Regions from separate parts of the Homo sapiens genome. Here all the other regions are linked to region 4. Evidence: promoter capture Hi-C in human tissues and cell types (Jung and others, 2019). All regions are on one chromosome and are shown on one strand. Each heading gives the region's core, a stretch centred on a gene start or on the middle of the fragment in contact. The rest is flanking DNA. Distances are from core to core; before and after follow the strand shown.

What was found. Contacts are between HindIII fragments. The study calls those that stand out against the background at their distance.
Region 1: a contact is called between a fragment that was not itself captured here and the fragment with the promoter of FTCD in region 4, in 2 of the 25 tissues and cell types used here (H1 embryonic stem cells and lymphoblastoid cells).
Region 2: a contact is called between the fragment with the promoter of DIP2A here and the fragment with the promoter of FTCD in region 4, in 2 of the 25 tissues and cell types used here (lymphoblastoid cells and mesendoderm cells).
Region 3: a fragment that was not itself captured here is called in contact with the fragment with the promoter of FTCD in region 4 in 1 of the 25 tissues and cell types used here (H1 embryonic stem cells).

What each region holds. Positions count from the first base shown.
Region 1 is chr21:46,438,130-46,442,308 of GRCh38, forward strand. It overlaps PCNT (pericentrin), which reads left to right. Exons shown (of 47, transcript NM_006031.6): 41 at 35-208; 42 at 1,954-2,073; 43 at 2,726-2,955. Among named protein-coding and RNA genes, the nearest start is that of DIP2A, 19 kb to the right of the region's middle. The HindIII fragment of the contact is 3,958 bases long and covers 37-3,994 here.
Region 2 is chr21:46,456,942-46,461,391 of GRCh38, forward strand. It overlaps DIP2A (disco interacting protein 2 homolog A), which reads left to right and starts at 1,950. Exons shown (of 38, transcript NM_015151.4): 1 at 1,950-2,281. The coding sequence starts at 2,191. It overlaps LOC124905046 (a long non-coding RNA gene), which reads right to left and starts at 1,772. Exons shown (of 2, transcript XR_007067915.1): 1 at 1,386-1,772. RefSeq lists enhancers at 1,164-1,303, 3,074-3,143 and silencers at 1,544-2,093, 2,284-2,353. The HindIII fragment of the contact is 5,308 bases long and covers 930-4,450 here.
Region 3 is chr21:46,414,060-46,418,389 of GRCh38, forward strand. It overlaps PCNT (pericentrin), which reads left to right. Exons shown (of 47, transcript NM_006031.6): 30 at 2,010-2,780; 31 at 4,145-4,247. Among named protein-coding and RNA genes, the nearest start is that of DIP2A, 43 kb to the right of the region's middle. The HindIII fragment of the contact is 9,054 bases long and covers 1-4,330 here.
Region 4 is chr21:46,154,065-46,158,548 of GRCh38, forward strand. FTCD (formimidoyltransferase cyclodeaminase) reads right to left here and starts at 1,515. Exons shown (of 14, transcript NM_206965.2): 1 at 1,406-1,515; 2 at 85-268. The coding sequence starts at 1,459. RefSeq lists enhancers at 1-584, 585-1,288. The HindIII fragment of the contact is 26,017 bases long and covers 1-4,484 here.

The sequences.
Region 1 (4,179 bases), core at 766-3,265, 280 kb after region 4:
CAAATTCTTACAAATTTATTTTCTTTTCTCCAAGAAAAAAATGGCAGCAGAGCTGCAGTTCCAGTTTGTGGACGTCCTGCTGAAAGACAATGTTTCCCTCACAAAAGCGCTCAGCACGGTGACCCAGGAGAAGCTGGAGCTGAGCAGAGCCGTGTCTAAGCTTGAGAAGTTGCTGAAGCACCATCTGCAGAAGGGCTGCAGCCCAAGCGTAGGTGTCTGTGCTTAACTCTTACCTGCCTCAGCCTAACCCACCATGGTCCAGAGCAGCTCCACCCCACAAGAGGCCGGGCTCCCTTTAGGGACCTGGGGATGTGGGCGTCACCTTCTCCCTAACCGCCAGGCTCTGTTGCCTCTGTCTGAAGCCTTGCTAAATGTTGTGGGATGTTTGAACATCTCAGCCGACTTCCAGCTCCGCCACAGACGGCGTCCTCACTGACCCTGACCGCTACTTGATGTTTGGTGCATGTTCATAAAAGGGTATTTTGACTAAGAATATTATAATCTGATCTAATTTAGAGTTTTAGTTAAAGTGATTTATAATTTTTTTTTTTTTTTTTTTTTGAGACCGAGTCTTGCTCTGTTGCCCAGGCTAGAGTGCAGTGGTGCGATCTCAGCTCACTGCAACCTCCACCTCCCAGGTTCAAGCAATTCTCCTGTGTCAGCCTCCCAAGTAGCTGAGATTACAAGTGCCCGCCACCACACATGGCTAATTTTTATATTTTTAGTAGAGATGGGGTTTTGCCATGTTGGCCAGGCTGGTCTCAAAATCCTGACGTGATTCCGCCCACCTCAGCCTCCCAAAGTGCTGGGATTACAGACATGAGCCACCGTGCCCGGCCTAAAGTGACTTATAATTTTCATAATGGTATAGTTGGATAGAGTTATCTTCCGGAATGTCTCATTTTTTTTTCTTTTGTATTTAGGCTATTTTGTTTGTGATTTGCTTTATTTTTTATAACTTTTTAAAAATTATTTTTAAATTTACATACAGTAAAATTTGCCCTTTCCTGGTGTAGTGTCATACAAGTTCACACACACACACATCCCTGTAACCTTCATAAGTAACCACCATTCACAGAGCACACAGCGATGGCCCCCCCAAAAAGAGCAGCAGGCATCTCCGCCTGCCACAGGCCCTGGCTCTCTCCCAGAAAGGTGTGTCAGTGGAACCAGCCCGTCTGGGACCTCCTAAACTGGCTTTTTTCACTTTTTGGGTTTTTTTTCTGAGACAGGGCCTTGCTGCATCTCCCAGGCTGGAGTGCAGTGGAGCAGTCACAGCTCACTTCAGCCTTGACCTCCCAGGTTCAGGGATCCTCCTGCCTCAGCCTCCTGACCTGCAGTGGTGTCAGCAGCAACCTGTGCACGTCCTCCCGTACACTCTTAAGTCATCTCTAAGATCACTTGCAGCACCTCATTCAGTGTAAATGCCACGTAAATAGTTGTCATCCTGTATTGTTTAGGGTGTAGGGGCAAGAAAAGAAGCACACGTTTGGTACAGACACATCGTTTTTTCTGAATATTTTTCACCCACAGTTGGTTGAATCCATGGATGTGGAACCCACAGCTGTCGAGAGTTGACTGTGCTTGTAGTTACCAGTGGTTGGCATTTCTAGGACCGGAGAATATGAGAGTGTTTAAGGCTTAAAGCTTTGAATTTGGGGTGATTTTACAAAGAATTGGTTTTCTGTTTCTGTTAAAATGTACCTTTTTTGCAATCATACTTCAGCAAGTGGCATGTCGTAATTACTCCATGTTAATTCTTTGGCTGATCACAGCACGGCGTAACCTAGGCCCTGCTGAGGGGGTGCTGAAGTTGAGGAGGGGCCAGGTGTGGTGTGGTCAGCCTGGCCTCCCCGCACATGGCCTTCTCCCTCACCTGCCCCCGGCTGCGTCTCTAAGATGCTCTTGTTGACGAGCAGCTCTGTAGACAGCGCTGGCTGTGCTTCCTTACAGAGGTCGGAAAGGTCTGCTTGGAAGCCAGACGAAACGGCTCCACAGAGTTCCCTGAGGCGCCCAGACCCCGGCCGGCTTCCACCAGCTGCCAGCGAGGAAGCACACACCAGCAATGTCAAGGTAGGAACGGTGCCACGAGTATAGAACTTTGGTGCTTTTTTAAGTCCTGGGTTTGCAAATTGCAGGCAAAGCATTTTTGTGACCACAAGGTTCTCGTCTGCCGGGTGTAGCAGTCACATCACTAAAGGAAAGGACGTTCACAGAATAAACTTCGGCTTGAATTTTGTTTTAATTGTGCACAAATACTGAGTTTCTGTGCTTGTTAAGCGTGGAACGTGGAAGGCTTTGACAAAGTCAGCAAATGGCGGCCTCTGCAGCCTGAGGGAGGCCTGGCCCAGGGGCTTGCCGGGATTCGGCCCAAGATCTGCTGCAGTCTCCTGATGGCACACGGTCCCCACCCCGTGACGTCCATCTCATGCCCAGTTTGGACCTTACCTAAGGGGTGAAATGCAAGAAGCTTCATAGGGGCTCATTTGATGATGCTGTGGAGAGGAGCTTGTGGTCCTAGATCTTGTCTGACAAACACAAATTGATCTTCCAACAGCAAGGTTGTTTCTGGCCACAGATACTGTTGGAAGGCCGATGGCTCTGTGATGATTTGATGGGAAAAAACAATCTGACTCTTTGGAAAGAGCAATGGTGTTAATGTGCTTTTGTCAGCAAGACAGTCTTTGTTTCCTATGATAAAATTTTACTGCTTTTTTTCTTTTAGATGGAAAAATTGTACCTGCATTACTTGAGAGCAGAGAGCTTTAGAAAAGCTCTGATTTATCAAAAGAAGTATCTTTTGCTGTTGATTGGTGGATTCCAGGATTCTGAACAAGAAACACTCTCCATGATTGCCCATTTGGGGGTATTTCCTTCCAAAGCAGAACGGAAAATCACATCTCGTCCTTTCACCAGGTTCCGCACGGCCGTCAGGGTGGTCATTGCAATATTAAGGTAAATGCCATGACGTTCAGTCAGTGCGTTCCGCGTCTGTCTCCGTGAGTGGGCAGCACACTGCATGGTTTTTTGGTCATTTTATTCCTTGAAACTCCATAATATGTTCTTTTTAAAGATGAATGGCATTTGAGGCCTTAGAGAAAATACAGATGATGAACTTGTCTTCAAGAAGTCATGTGTATGAATCTCTCACCTTCTAAAACTAAAGATTTAAGGGCACCTTTGTATTACAGAGGAACATCTTGACTTTTAATGGGTTTCGTGCCACAAAGAACGTGCTGAATTTCTAAAACTGTTTTTCCCCCTAAACACTGTGCGGCTGTGCCTGCTCCCTGATGCCACAGAGGTGTTTCCCAAGGCCACGCGCGGGCCTGTCTGGAGTAGCAGATGCAGCAGAGAGCAGCTAGGAATCCCGCTCCTTTCAGAGACCAGGTGCCGAGCCAGTTCAGTCATCGCGGCTGCAGGCTGGGCCAAAGTGGGGTGCAGGCGAGGCCTCCTGGGTTGCTGTACTCTCAGCTTCTCTGGTCCTGGGGCACTTTGTCTCCTCGTCTCTGAGCTCCCCTGACCGTAGGCCTCCACCGTCCATCCTTCCACCCACCCATCTGTCCATCCTGTGTTCATGGGGAGAACACCCTGCAGGAGGAAGCATTTTAGGCACTAGATAGGGGAGGTAAGCAGACCCAGATCCTACCTCCTGTCGAGGAGGGGAGATCTTTTGAAGGCAGTGGTGTCCCAGAAAGGAGCAGTCTCTGTGTCCCTGTGAGGGCACTGCCTAGGGTAGCTGCCACCAAGGGGCCTTGACAGGTCTTATGGAGGAATCGGCAGTGTCTGCTATGCCTCAAAGGAGGGAAGCCACAGGCATGATGCTTGTTCCGAAGGCCATCCTAGCAGGGCGTCTGGGGCCCTGCACACTGACCTGCATGCCCTCGTCACCTGCACTCTGCATGCTCACCATCTGACGGACTCCTGCGAGGGCTGGGGTCTCCGTGTTCTGAGCCTGTCCAGTGGCATCTGTGACAGGATGAAGATGGGAGGGTCCTGCACACCAGGCGGGAGCGGCATGTGTTTCCTAGTCACTGGTGTGGCCGGCTGACTTTGAACTGGAGTCGTCCTGAGCTGGGCCATGGTGGGTGTCTAGGGGACCATATGGTCCACGGTGGGGCCGCAGTGAGGCTTTGTCAGGTGGTTGGGCATGGGAAGGTCGCCGCCGCCGGCAGCCCT
Region 2 (4,450 bases), core at 700-3,199, 300 kb after region 4:
GACAAGCCCGGGCAACATAGCAAGACCTTGCCTCTACAAGTAATAAAAAATGTATCCAGGTGTGGTGACACATACCTGTAGTCCCAGTTACTTAGGAGGCTCAGGTGGGAGGATCGTTTGAGCCCAGGAAGTTGAGGCTACAGTGGGCCATGATCCAGCAACTGCACTCCAGCCTGGGCAACAGAGTGAGACACTGTCTACGAAAAAAAGGTTTAAGGCAGTTTGGGGAGTCAAAACCTTTGAAGGCATCTACCCAGGTATCTCCAACCCATGTATGACGGGCTTTTCTTTTCTTTCTTTTTTTTTTTTAAAAGACAGAGTCTCACTCCTGTTGCCCAGGCTGGAGTGCAGTCACAGCTCACTACAGCCCTGACTTCCAGGGCTCAGGTGATCCACCCACCTTAGCCTCCCAAGCAGCTGGGACCACAGCCGTGGCCACCATGCCCGGCTAATTTTTTGTGTTTTCAGTAGAGATGGGGTTTTGTCATGTTGCCCAAGCTGGTCTTGAACTCCTGAACTCAAGCAATCTTCCCGCCTTGGCCTCCCAAAGTGCTGGGATTACAGGTGTGAGCCACTGTGCCCAGCCTCATCTTTTCTTAGCAGGGATCCAAACTTAGTGGAAGAGTATTGCCTTGTTTGGGTGTTTTGCTATTTTTGGAGTTCAGTCAAACAGGGATGTTAATTCCTGGGCCTGGTTCTTGTCTTTGACCTGCTGCAGTAAATGAAGCTTCTCTATATGTAACGGGACAGATTCACTGGCTTACAACTGTTTGTTGCTTGCCTTCAGCTGACCACTATTCTTAAGAGTCTCGGTTGGCACTAAGCAATAGCTATCCAATCCCCCTTTCCTTCCTTTTATCTACTACGTTCACCATATATGAAATGTCTGATACTTCACCCACTCGTGGATTCCATTTCACTAGTTCACCCTCCTACTTCACCACTGGTGAGTGATGCAGCCTCGAATCCCATCTTCTCACCAGCTTTAATGCTGCAGAATGGTTTCTCCAGAAGCAGACGCTGCGACTGAGTTTGGGGTACGAGGATGTTGACATGGTATCAACACCCGTGAAAGGAAGGGGAAGGAAGCAGGACTGGGCGGAGGAAGAAGGGTATGTAAGTCCCGCAAAGCTTTGGCCAACCTCGTGTGGAGCTCTGGAACGAGAACTGCTGAAGTTCGCCAGACTCGGGCACTCCTGCCTAACTCAGTAACAGGCGGGCGGCATCGGGACACGGACACGCTGCTCAGGCCCCGCCACAGCCACCCTCGCACCGTCAGACACACTCCCACACATTCGGGGAGCAGGGCCTTCAGGACGCCGGCGGCGCCCTCTCAGTCTAGCTCCGCCAGGCCCCTCGTCCGTCCTCCCGCCCTCCAAGGTCACCTCGCGGTCCGACATGGCTGCTGGGGCTCCTTCGGGGCCAACGATGTGTACTTCTAGGGCTGTTTTTTAAAGCAAAGGAGTGAACACAGGTAAAGGCACGAGAAAGGTGCCTCGACGCCACCACGGACTGCGCAGCGTTCGCGATCAGCACAGCCCGAAAGGGAAGACAGCGGTCAACGCGGACGCGCCATGGCGCGGGGACCAAGGAGGAGCCCCGAGAGGGGCGGGGCTGGCCGGAGGGCCGCGCGCGGGGCCACCAGCGGCGCCTAGGGGTCAGCGCCAACGCCCACGGGTTGGTCATCCCCACTTAGGCGCCTCGGGCCGCAACTAAGCAGCCTGCCCGCCTCAAGCCCGCCACCCTCAAGCAGGCCCAGCGCAGAGCCTGTCGGGAGCGGCGCTCTCCCGCCTCTCCCAATGGGAGCCCGGAGCGGCATCGACGCGTCTTCGGGGCCAATGGAAGCGAGGCTCTGGTGTTGCTGGGCGGGGCCGGGAGGGCTGCGCGGGCCCGAGACCCACTGCGCACGCGCGCTCGCTACCCGCCCTTCCCGCCGCGCACGCGCTCCCGTGTAGGGCCGGCCGGGCGCTCAGGAGCGCGCGGGGCAGCGGCGGCGCGGCGGAGCCATCCGCGCTCGTGCCCGCGCGGGTGCGTTGCTGTCCTGGCCGCGCCCCTGTCCCGCCGCCTCCCGCTCCTCGCCTGGCGGATGTAGGTTGTTGGCCTGAGGGGAGCTACGTAGCCGAGGTTTGCGCTGCCGCCGCCAGGCCCGGTCCGGTTCCAGCCTCTGCCCGGACGCTAGCCGGCCTGGCCATGGCTGACCGCGGGTGCCCGCTGGAGGCGGCGCCGCTGCCTGCCGAGGTGCGGGAGAGCCTGGCTGAGCTGGAGCTGGAGCTGTCGGAAGGTGAGCCGGACCCCGCCCTCAACCCCCGCGACCCGCCCTCAGCCCGGTCCCCCGCGCAGCCCCTCACTCCGGGACCCCCGCGCGGCCCCTCACTCCAGGACCCCCGCCCTTCACCCCCGGGACCCCCACGCGGCCTCGCCCCTGGGACCTCTGCCCCTCAACGGGACCCCGGTTCCTCTACCCTGGAACCCGCCCCTCGCCCCGGAGACACCGTTCCTCAACCCTAGGACCCCGCCCCTCATGTGGGACCCCAGCACGACCCCTCGCCCCGAGACCCCGGCCCCTTACCCCCGGGAACTCCCGCCCCTCACCCCCGGGACCTCCTGCCCCTCACCCCCGGAACCCCGCGCGGCCCCTCACCCCGGGGACCCCGCCCTTCACCCTGGGAGCCCCGCGCTGCCCCTCCGGACTCCCGACCCTCAGCCCCGGGACACCCGCGCGGCCCCTCAAACCAGGGACCACTGCCCCGCCTCTCATACAAGGACCCCTCCCCCATACAAGGACTCCTCCCCCCAGGCCCTTCACACCTGGGACCCTTACTCCTCACCCCGGGACGCCTGCCAAACTTCTGGAGACCTTTCCCTATCCCCAGCTGCTCCCCCAATGGGATCCGACCCCAAGGACTGGCTTTGACTAGGTCGTTTGGACAGGTGTGAGAATCTTGAGAGGAATGACCACTTTTGCCCCAAGCTGTGAGCCCCGCTTTTCTCAAGGCTGTAGGTCTGGGCTTGGTCTGGGCTTCACCAGGATGACTGCGCCCGTTGTCCGCAGGCAGCTACTTCCCTTGGAGCTGGGAGCCCTTGCCGCGCGCCTCATACTCTAGGAGCTGCACCCTGTGCCTCATTTTATTATCTATAAAGTGGGGTTATACCAGCACTTTCCATTTTGGATTGTTATGAGGCTAAAATACCTTAATATATGCAAAGCACATAACACTTAGGAGTTGTTAGCCCCCTCATGGAATTTTTTAAAGTAAAAAAAAAAAGTCGTATAAATGGTTGGTTGATAAAAATAGACTGGAGTAATCTGGCTTCAGAGGTGGTGGGTGGCATTTCCCATTTGGATGTTATCCCTTTCAAGGCCTGTGTCCTGATATTCCTTTTGGCTGTCTTTGGGAAAGAGTTAAGTTCTTCTCCAGTGTCAGAAAGGACTTGCAGTCCTTGAAGAAAAGCATGTAATTGATTCTTACTCTGTTTTTGAGATCTAAATGCATTTTCAGCTTTTAGAATCCATTTTTTAAATAATCTTATTATCCTTAATTTAAGTTTCAGATTGATAAGATTTTGCTGGGTCTGGGGTAGTTATTTCTCAAAACATCTAAATAATATGCACTAGCATACAGTAAGTCATTTAATCCTTGCCAACCTTAGGGAGGTAGATGCTGTTGTGATCTTGTTTTACATATAATACAACATGTACTTGCAACTATTTTGAATTCAGCATTCAGATTTTTAACAATGTTGTGACATGTGGCACATTTTTTTTTTTTGAGACGGAGTCTTGCTCTGTTGCCCAGGCTGGAGTGCAATGGCGTGATCTCGGCTCACTGCAACCTCTGCCTCCCAGGTAGAAATGATTCTTCTGCCTCAGCCTCCCGAGTAGCTGGGATTACAGGGGCTTGCCACCACGCCCAGCTAATTTTCGTATTTTTAGTAGAGGCAAGGTATCACCATGTTGACCAGGCTGGTCTCAAACTCCTGACCTCAGGTGGTCCGCCTGCCTCGGCCTCCCAAAGTGCTGGGATTACAGGCATGAGCCACCGTGCCTGGCTTGTGGCACATTTTTAAAAATGGAAGTACAGGCTGAGTACACAGTGGCTCATGCTTGTAATCCCAACACTTTGGGAGGCCACGTTGGCTTGGAGACGGGAGTTCAGAACAGCTTGGGTAACATAGCAAGACTCTGTCTCTACAGTATTAAAAAAAATTAGCTGGGCATGGTGGTGTGCACCTGTAGTCCCAGCTACTTGGGAGGCTGAGGCAGGAGGATCACCTGAGCACTGGAGCACTCCAGCCTGGGCAACAGAGCGAGAACCTGTCTCTTCTCACCAAAAAAAAAAAAAAAAAAAAAAGGAAAGAAATGGATGGATTTGAGAATTCTTGGTGATTAGATGCTCCTAGGCAGTCTGACAAACTTAAATTAGGAATGGGTTTGACAGGATCTACTGTA
Region 3 (4,330 bases), core at 1,518-4,017, 260 kb after region 4:
CAGCTCACTGCAACCTCTGCCTCCCGAGTTCAAGTGATTCTGCAGCCTCAGCCTCCCGAGTAGCTGGGACTGCAGGCATGCGCCACCACACCCAGCTGATTTTTGTATTTTTAGTAGAGACGGGGTTTCACCATGTTGGCCAGGCTGGTCTTGAACTCTTGACCTTAGGTGATCCACCCTCCTCAGCCTCCCGAAGTGCTGGGATTACAGGCGTGAGCCACCACGCCCAGCCTTAGATGGCACCTTTTGATGCACTGTCTGCACCTCGCCTCCTCCAGTCCAAGGCCCAGCGCAGCCTCCCTGGACACACAGCCACCCACCCTTCTCCTCCTTCTCCTCTGGGACACACATCTGTCCACCCTCCTCCTCCTCCTCCTCCTGGACACAGTCGCCCACCCTCCTCCTCCTGGACACACAGCCGCCCACTCTCCTCTTCCTCCTCCTTCTCGACACACAACCACCCACCCTGCTCCTCCTCCTCCTCCTCCTGGACATGCAGCCGCCCACCCTCCTCCTCCTGGACACGCAGCCGCCCACCCTGCTCCTCCTCCTCCTCCTGGACACACAGCCGCCCACTCTCCTCCTCCTGGACATGCAGCCACCCACCCTGCTCCTCCTCCTCCTCCTGGACACACAGCTGCCCACACTCCTCCTCCTGGACACACAGCTGCCCACCCTCCTCCTCCTGGACACGCAGCCGCCCACCCTCCTCCTGGACACACAGCCGCCCACTCTCCTCCTCCTGGACATGCAGCCGCCCACCCTGCTCCTCCTCCTCCTGGACACACAGACACCTACCCTCCTCCTGCTGGACACACAGCCACCCACCCTGCTCTTCCTCCTCCCCCTCCTCCCTGCTGTTTGCTAAATGTGCCCCAACTACTCCTCCAGGCTCTGAAACCCAGAGGCTCTAACACCAGAAGTGCTGGGCAGGTGTTTTATGGTCTCTAGGGTGGCACGGAAGCATGCTTGGTGCTGAAGCCTGCTGAGACCTGGGCTCACCCGAGCCCCTCGCAGCCCTCGTGAGTGTCCCGCACGTCGCTGGGACGTTTCTTGCATGAGTGCAGGTGCCGCCTGTTCCTGGGTCCACACTGCGTGCACCTCATTGGCGTTTAGAGCCTGAAAGATTCTTAATTCCACAGAAATCAGGGAAGGATGGGCCTAGGCCCGCAGTTCTGAGGAGACCCATGAACCTGGTTCGTGTGCTTGTCATGTGCTCTCGGGAAATACATCCTGTGTGGAGAGCCCTTCGCATCTCCTGCGGCAAACAGTCTTGGGGCCCTCATGACAGGAACGTTTCTTTGAATTTTTTTTTTTTTTTTTTTTTTTTTTTTTTGAGACAGAGTCTCGCTCTGTCGCCCAGGCTGGAGTGCAGTGGCGAGATCTTGAGATCTTGGCTCACTGCAACCTCCACCTCCTGGGTTCAAGCAATTCACTGCCTCAGCCTCCCGAGTAGCTAGGATTACAGGCACCCGCCACCATGCCTGGCTAATTTTTGTATTTTTAGTAGAGACAGGGTTTCACCATTTTGGCCAGGGTGGTCTCGAACTCCTGACCTCGTGATCCACCTGTCTCAGCCTCCCAAAATGCTAGGATTACAGGCGTGAGCCACTGCACCCGGCCCAATTTTTTGAATTCTTAAGAGAAAGCTCAGCCCTGCCTGCCAAATTCTTAGAAGTTACACACACAGAAACTCCAAATTCATCACATAAACCACAATTTTGTGTTTTCGGTGCTCAGATATAGAACCTTCCCATCCTTTTTCCCTTGTATGAAGCTTGTGTCCTCAATCACCGCAGAAATAGGTTATGACAGTTGCCTTTTAAGCAAGGAGATGTAAGCCTTGGTTCTGTTTCTCATAGAATTAAATAAACTTGAAATGTGCAGGGCTCATTGTGGAATCACCCGAGTGCTCCGAAACTCCCTGAAATCCACTCATTAACACCAGACAGGTGCGACTCCTGGTGAGCCAGGTATTCCACCGTGCACCTGTTCTGTTTCACCTGCAGGGTAAAGAAAAAGTACTGGAAGATTGTCAGCTGCCGAAGGTCGATCTCGTAGCTCAGGTGAAACAGCTTCAGGAAAAACTGAACCGTTTGCTGTATTCCATGACCTTCCAGAATGTGGATGCTGCCGACACCAAATCTCTGTGGCCCATGGCCTCAGCACACCTGTTGGAGAGCAGCTGGAGTGATGATTCCTGTGACGGAGAAGAGCCTGACATATCACCCCACATAGACACATGTGATGCCAATACAGCCACGGGGGGTGTAACTGATGTTATCAAAAATCAGGCCATAGACGCGTGTGATGCCAATACAACCCCAGGGGGTGTAACTGATGTTATCAAAAATTGGGATTCCTTGATACCAGATGAAATGCCAGATTCTCCCATTCAAGAAAAATCAGAATGTCAGGACATGTCTCTTTCTTCACCGACCAGCGTACTTGGTGGCTCCCGCCACCAGAGCCACACTGCAGAGGCTGGGCCCCGGAAGAGCCCGGTCGGGATGCTGGACCTGTCTTCCTGGAGCTCCCCTGAGGTCCTCAGGAAGGACTGGACCCTGGAGCCCTGGCCCAGCCTCCCCGTGACACCCCACTCAGGAGCCCTGAGCCTGTGCAGTGCCGACACATCCCTGGGGGACAGGGCGGACACCTCGCTGCCACAGACCCAGGGGCCGGGGCTGCTTTGTTCCCCAGGCGTGTCTGCAGCAGCGCTGGCACTGCAGTGGGCCGAGTCTCCGCCGGCTGACGACCACCATGTGCAGAGGACGGCTGTGGTAGGTGCCTGCTCTGCTCCCAGGCCTGCTGTTCCCGTGGGAATGTGGTCTGCCCGGCGCCACGGCAGCTGCCATTGTTTGTTCACCTCCTGACAGCACACACCTCGCAGTGCTGTGTGGGGCCAGCTCTGCAGGACTGGCATCATGGGCGCATTTAGATTATTTCAGTTGTTCAGGTATTTTTAAAATGCCTGAGATGCATTTGCCTGCCTCAGACATACCCTGGGCATGCTTCTCCACTGACGCTGACTCCAACGGGCATAGCCCAGACACGTCTTCGTGTGTGATGGGCATAGGGTTCTTTGTCCAGAATGGTTTTTTAGATTTATTTTTAGGAATGCTTCCTTTTTTTTTTTTTTTTTTTTTTTTTGTGAGATGGAGTCTCGCTCTGTCACCCAGGCTAGAGTGCAGTGACGCAATCTCGGCTCACTGCAGCCTCCGCCTCCCCAGGTTCAAGCAAATCTCCTGCCTCAGCCTCCCTAGTAGCTGGGACTACAGGCACACGCCACCACACCCGGCTAATTTTTGTAGTTTAGTAGAGACGGGGTTTTACCTTATTGGTCAGGCTGGTCTCGAACTCCTGACCTCATGATCCACCCACCTCAGCCTCCCAAAGTGCTGGGCTTACAGGCGTGAGCCACCATGCTCAGCCAGAAATGCTTCATATTTTTAACAGGTTTCACATATGCTAATTAATTTTAATTTATGAGTTAGATCGTATTATTTCTAACATAATCATTTTGGGATTTTGTGTATCTTGAGTAAGATAAAATTAAAAATCAGGTATGGTTGGGCTCATGCTTGTAGTCTCAGCACTTTGGGAGGCTGAGGCGGGAGGATTGCTTGAGCCCAGGAATTTGAGACCAGGCTGGGTAACACGGTGAGACCCTGTCTCTACAAAAAAAACACAAAAAATTAGCTGGGCGTGCTGGTGCCGCCCATGGTCCCTGCTCTTCAGGAGGCTGAGGCAGGAGGATCACTTGACCTTGGGAGGTTGAGGATGCAGTGAGCCAAGATTGAACCACTGCACTCCAGCCTGGGTGACAGAGTGAGACCCTCCCTCAAAAAATAATAATTTAGCAGATACATATTATCTGAAACATCCATATACTATCATTTCATGCAAAACAATTTAAATCTGAAATATTTACTATTGGCTACATTAAAATATTCCTAAAGAGCTGTGGGTGAATCTGATTAAATTGTTGGAAGCATTCGACCTGTGTGTTCACCAGTTTTGAGTTGTTTCATCTGGGGTCTATGTGGGAAGATAAATTCAGGCCTTTGAAAGTTTTCACCTGGCAAAGTCAGCGCTATGATGTAATTACTCATTATTTTATGACCATTTAAAAATCTCTTAACAGGAGAAAGATGTCGAAGATTTTATCACAACATCCTTTGATTCTCAAGAAACATTAAGTTCACCTCCTCCTGGATTAGAAGGAAAAGCTGATAGAAGTGAGAAAAGTGAGTTGGTTATCTTTCATTTTTAATTTTTTATTTCAGTGGTTTCCTAGCACAGAATAGTCAAAAGAATTCCTGCATCCTTT
Region 4 (4,484 bases), core at 265-2,764:
TACCCCCTCTCCCAGGACACCAGGACAGGGCTCGGCCCTGACATTCTGAGACACGGCAGCCACAGGAGAGCCCAGAGACCTCACCTTGGTGCCTGCTCATGTCGATAAGTCGGGAAGCTACCCGGGCAGCGTTGAGGGCCCCCTCCACCACGCACTCCGGCGGCCCCACGAAGGTGTACACGGTGCGGTTGGTGGAAGGGCCTGCGTCCACATCCAGCAGCACGCAGCCCGGGGTCTGTGTGATGGCTCCAGAGATGGCGTCGATCACCTGGGACACAGGCCCGGCCCCCACACCTCAGTCTCCCCGTTTGAAAGAAGGAAAAGGAGCTTGGAGGTGGCTGCACCCCGAGACACAAATGGGGGCTGAGGAGGCGGGCCAAGCCTTTGGGGGCTCTCCGACAAGCTGAGCTCCCACCGAAAGTGCCCGCACACAGCGGCCGCCCGGGAACCCTCACAGCAGCCACAGTCACTCCAGCCCAAGCACAGTCCCCACAAGGGGCTGCAGGTGGTGCCTCCAGGAGAGACTCACGGGCTCTGCTCCGACAGACAGATGCCAGAGACGTGGCCGGGGATCCAAGAAGGTGACCACAGGCGCAGGTCACAGAGGGGCCGGGACCCCCACCCCCGAGCAGGGGAGGGACAGATCACCAGCATGGGGGAGGGGCCTGAAGGGCCTAGAACCTTCCGGGTGGCAGGACTGCTGGGAGCAGGGGCTCAGCCCCAAATCTTGCCCTGTCCCAGGGCCTTGGTGCTGGCTGGAATCCCGGCATGACGAGGCCTCCCTGCACCCCTGCGGGTGACCCCTGTGGCCTGGTGCTGCGCTCTGGGAGGCCTTCCAGGTGGCCCTTAGGGCCTGCGTTTGTTCCCGGAGGAGCCTGGACCTCAGGGCTGTGGAAGGCGAGAGGCCGGACCTGGGGGCCTGCTGCCCCCTCTGTGCCTACTTCGTTTTGGGTCCAGTGAGGATGGTGGCTGCAGGGTGGGGGCTCAGCAAGCTAACTCCAGTGGAGATGGAGAGGCGGCAGTGGGGACCATGCTGGGCCACCTCGTGTGGCCTCACACAGCCCTTTCAGTCAGTGGCAGGAGCCCCATTTTCAGGGGGGAGCACCAAGGCCCTTTGAGGCCCAGAGATCTGCCCAACCCCCCACCGAAAGCACCCGAAAGGCCCCTGAAGCCACAGCCAAGCCTCAGCCCCCACAAGCACCAGTCGTGTTCCACCCACCCCTGGGTCAGGCACTCCCCAGGGCCCTGAGCCACGGGATGTCCTTGGGGCCCACGGGCAGCGGCTCTGCCCATCCTGGGAAGACGACCCGGGACACCAAGCCCACCACCTCCTCCATGGCCTGGGCCTTAGCCACTCAAGCTGCCCCATCAGCCCTAGATGCTTGACCAGCTCCTCGGGCCTCACCTCCTGGTTCTTCCCCTCCGAAAAGTTGGGGACGCATTCCACCAGCTGGGACATGGCCAGCACCTTGATCCAGATGCTCCTCTCTGGGCAGATGGAAGGACAGGGCCAGTGCTCCGCAGCCGCCGCCAGGGCCTTTATACGCTCACCGGCAGCACCTCCCCACCGGCTTCTCATTAACCAGCAAGGCACAAGGAGCAGTGGGGCCAAGGTCCCTGTGCAGCCGCGGAGTGGGGTGCTGCAGAGCCACCCCGGGTGCTGTTGACCCAGAGGGGATGGCTCCACTCAGCCAGAGTGTGGGTTCCCGGAAAAGAAGCACATGCCAGGGTGAAGGGGCATGTGCCGAGGACCCCCAGGAGCATCAGGCCAGCCTGGCTGGAATCCTGTCGTGACGAGGCCTCCCTGTGCCACTGCGGGTGACCCTCGTGACCCTGTGCTGCCTTCTGGGAGGCCTTCCAGGCAGCCCGTGGGGCCTGCGTTTGTTCCTGGAGGAGCCTGGACCCCTGGGGCTGTGGAGGGCGAGAGGCCAGCATGAGGCCCTGGCTCGCAGCACCCAACTGAGGTCAGCTCAGCTCAGACAGGAGAGTGCAGGGGAGCACGCGTGTGAGAGTGAGTGAGGATACACGTGAGGGCAGGGCAGGGGAACACGTGAGAGTGCAGATACACGTGAGCACAAGGCAGGGGAGCACATGTGTGAGAGCGTGGATACATGTGAGCACAGGACAGGGGAACACGTGTGAGAGTGAGCGAGGATACATGTGAGTGTGGGGTAGGGGAGCACACGTGTGAGAGTGCAGGTACACGTGAGCATGGGGCAGGGGAAGCAAGCATGTGAGAGTGAGTGCAGATACATGTGAGCGCAGGGCAGGGGAACACGCGTGTGAGAGTGCAGATACACACGAGACGGGCATGTGCGATATGGGGGAAGGCAGCTGAGACCCCAGCTCTCCCCAGCTGCTGCTCCCCTGACTACAGGCTCCCCACGAAGTCAGCGGCACCAGGGCCGTGCTCAGAAGGGAGAACTCCTGTCTCCACGTTCAGCCGCTGCCCACTTGCAGTGCTTTTATCATTTTCTCTTTTTTTTTTTTTTGAGACAAAGTCTCACTCTGTCAGCCAGGCTGGAGTGCAGCGGCACAATCATGGCTTCCTGCAGCCTTGGTCCCCAGGCTCAAGAGGTCCTTTCACCTTAGCCTCCTGAGCATCTGGGCCACAGGCACACACCACTACACTGGCTAACTTTTCCATTTTTGGTAGACATGGTGATATGGTTTGGCTGTGTCCCCACCTAAATCTCATCTTGAATTGTAGAGCCCATAGTTCCCACGTCATGGGAGGGACCCGGTGGGAGGTCACTGAATCACGGGGGCGGCTTTTTCCGGTGCTGTTTTTGTGATAGTGAATGGTCTCACGAGATCCGATGGTTTTATAAAGGGCAGTTCCCCTGCACACACCCTCTTGTAAGACGTGACTTTGCTCCTCTTTCACCTTCCACCATGATTGTGGAACTGTTGAGTCCATTAAACTGCTTTTTCTTTAAAAATTACCCAGTCTTGCGTATGTCTTTATCAGACAAATACACATGAGGTCTCACCACGTTGCCCAGGCTGGTCTCAAACTCCTGGGCTCAAGCGATCCTCCTGCCTCGGCCTCCCAAAGTGCTGGAATTACAAGTGTGAGCCACTGAGCCCAGCCCCACTTGAAGTTCTTTTTTTTTTTTTTTTTTTTTTTTGAGACAGGGTCTCGCTCTGTCGCCCAGGCTGGAGTGCAGTGGTGCGATCTTGGCTCACTGCAAGCTCTGCCTCCCGGGTTCACGCCATTCTCCTGCCTCAGCCTCCAGAGTAGCTGGGACTACAGGCACCCGCTACCACACCCAGCTAATTTTTTGTATTTTTAGTAGAGATGGGGTTTCACCATGTTGGCCAGGATGGTCTCGATCTCTTGACCTCATGATCCACCCACCTCGGTCTCCCAAAGTGCTGGGATTACAGGCGTGAGCCACCCACTTGAAGTTCTTAATGGAACCCCAACCATGTGGGCCTTAGGGACCCCACCTCCGTGGCTACTCAGGGGGACTGGGATGAGACAGGAGCCAGGTAAGCCCAGAAACCTTCAGAGGCTGGGAGCACACAGAGTTCCCCAGCCAGGGCTCCACGTCTGGAGGCTGGGAGTGGGGGATGGGGTCAGGGATCTGTGTCTGGAGGGAGACCAGGAGGGGAGGATGGGGTCAGAGCTCTGTGGAGCCTCAAGGGGAGGATGGAGTCAGGGATCCATGTCTGGAGGCCAGGAGGGGAGGATGGGGTCTGTTGAGGGCCGCACTGCATTCCCTCGAGAAACCATCTGCTGAAGGCCTGACCTCCAGCATGGCAGACTGGATTACCCCCAGCACCGCCGACTGGATTGGATGTGGAGATGGACAGGGCGGTGAGAAGAGGGAGAGACACCAGGGATGCACTCAGAGAAAAGGCCAGGAGGACAAAGCAGGGAGGCGGCCGCCTGCAAGCCAAGCAGAGAGACCTCAGACAAACAGAATCTGCAGACACTTTGATCTTGTACTCTGGGCCTTCAGGACTGTGATAGAATAAATTTCTGTGGTTTAAGCTGCTGGGTCTGCGGTACTTTGTGACGGCAGCCGCACACATCCAGGGTCCCGAGGTGCGGGGCACTGGAACATTCTGGCTGTGAGGGTTGCCCACACTGGGCTGGCACCTTCATCCTCGCACCACAGCAGAGTGACCAGAACCATACACTCGTGACCCAGGACGGTGCCAAGGCCAAGACCTGGCCCTGTCCTCCAGCCCAGCAAATCGCCTGTCAGGAGAGAGGGTTGGGGCGGGAGGCCCCGGCAGGAGCTGCATGCATTTCCTACCCAGCTACTGCTGGACCAGGGCTTGGCTACAGCTGAGAACACGAGGGGGAATGGGGCTGGTTGTGACGCCGGCGCTGGTTCTCAGGGGCAGCACTGAGACATTAGAAATGCTGGCAGGTGCTGTAAATAGCTCCTGAATCGGGGACCCTAAGGGACCCCACTTACAGGAGAAAGAATCTCAGCTATGCCCACACCAGGGTTTCCACCATCTCTCCC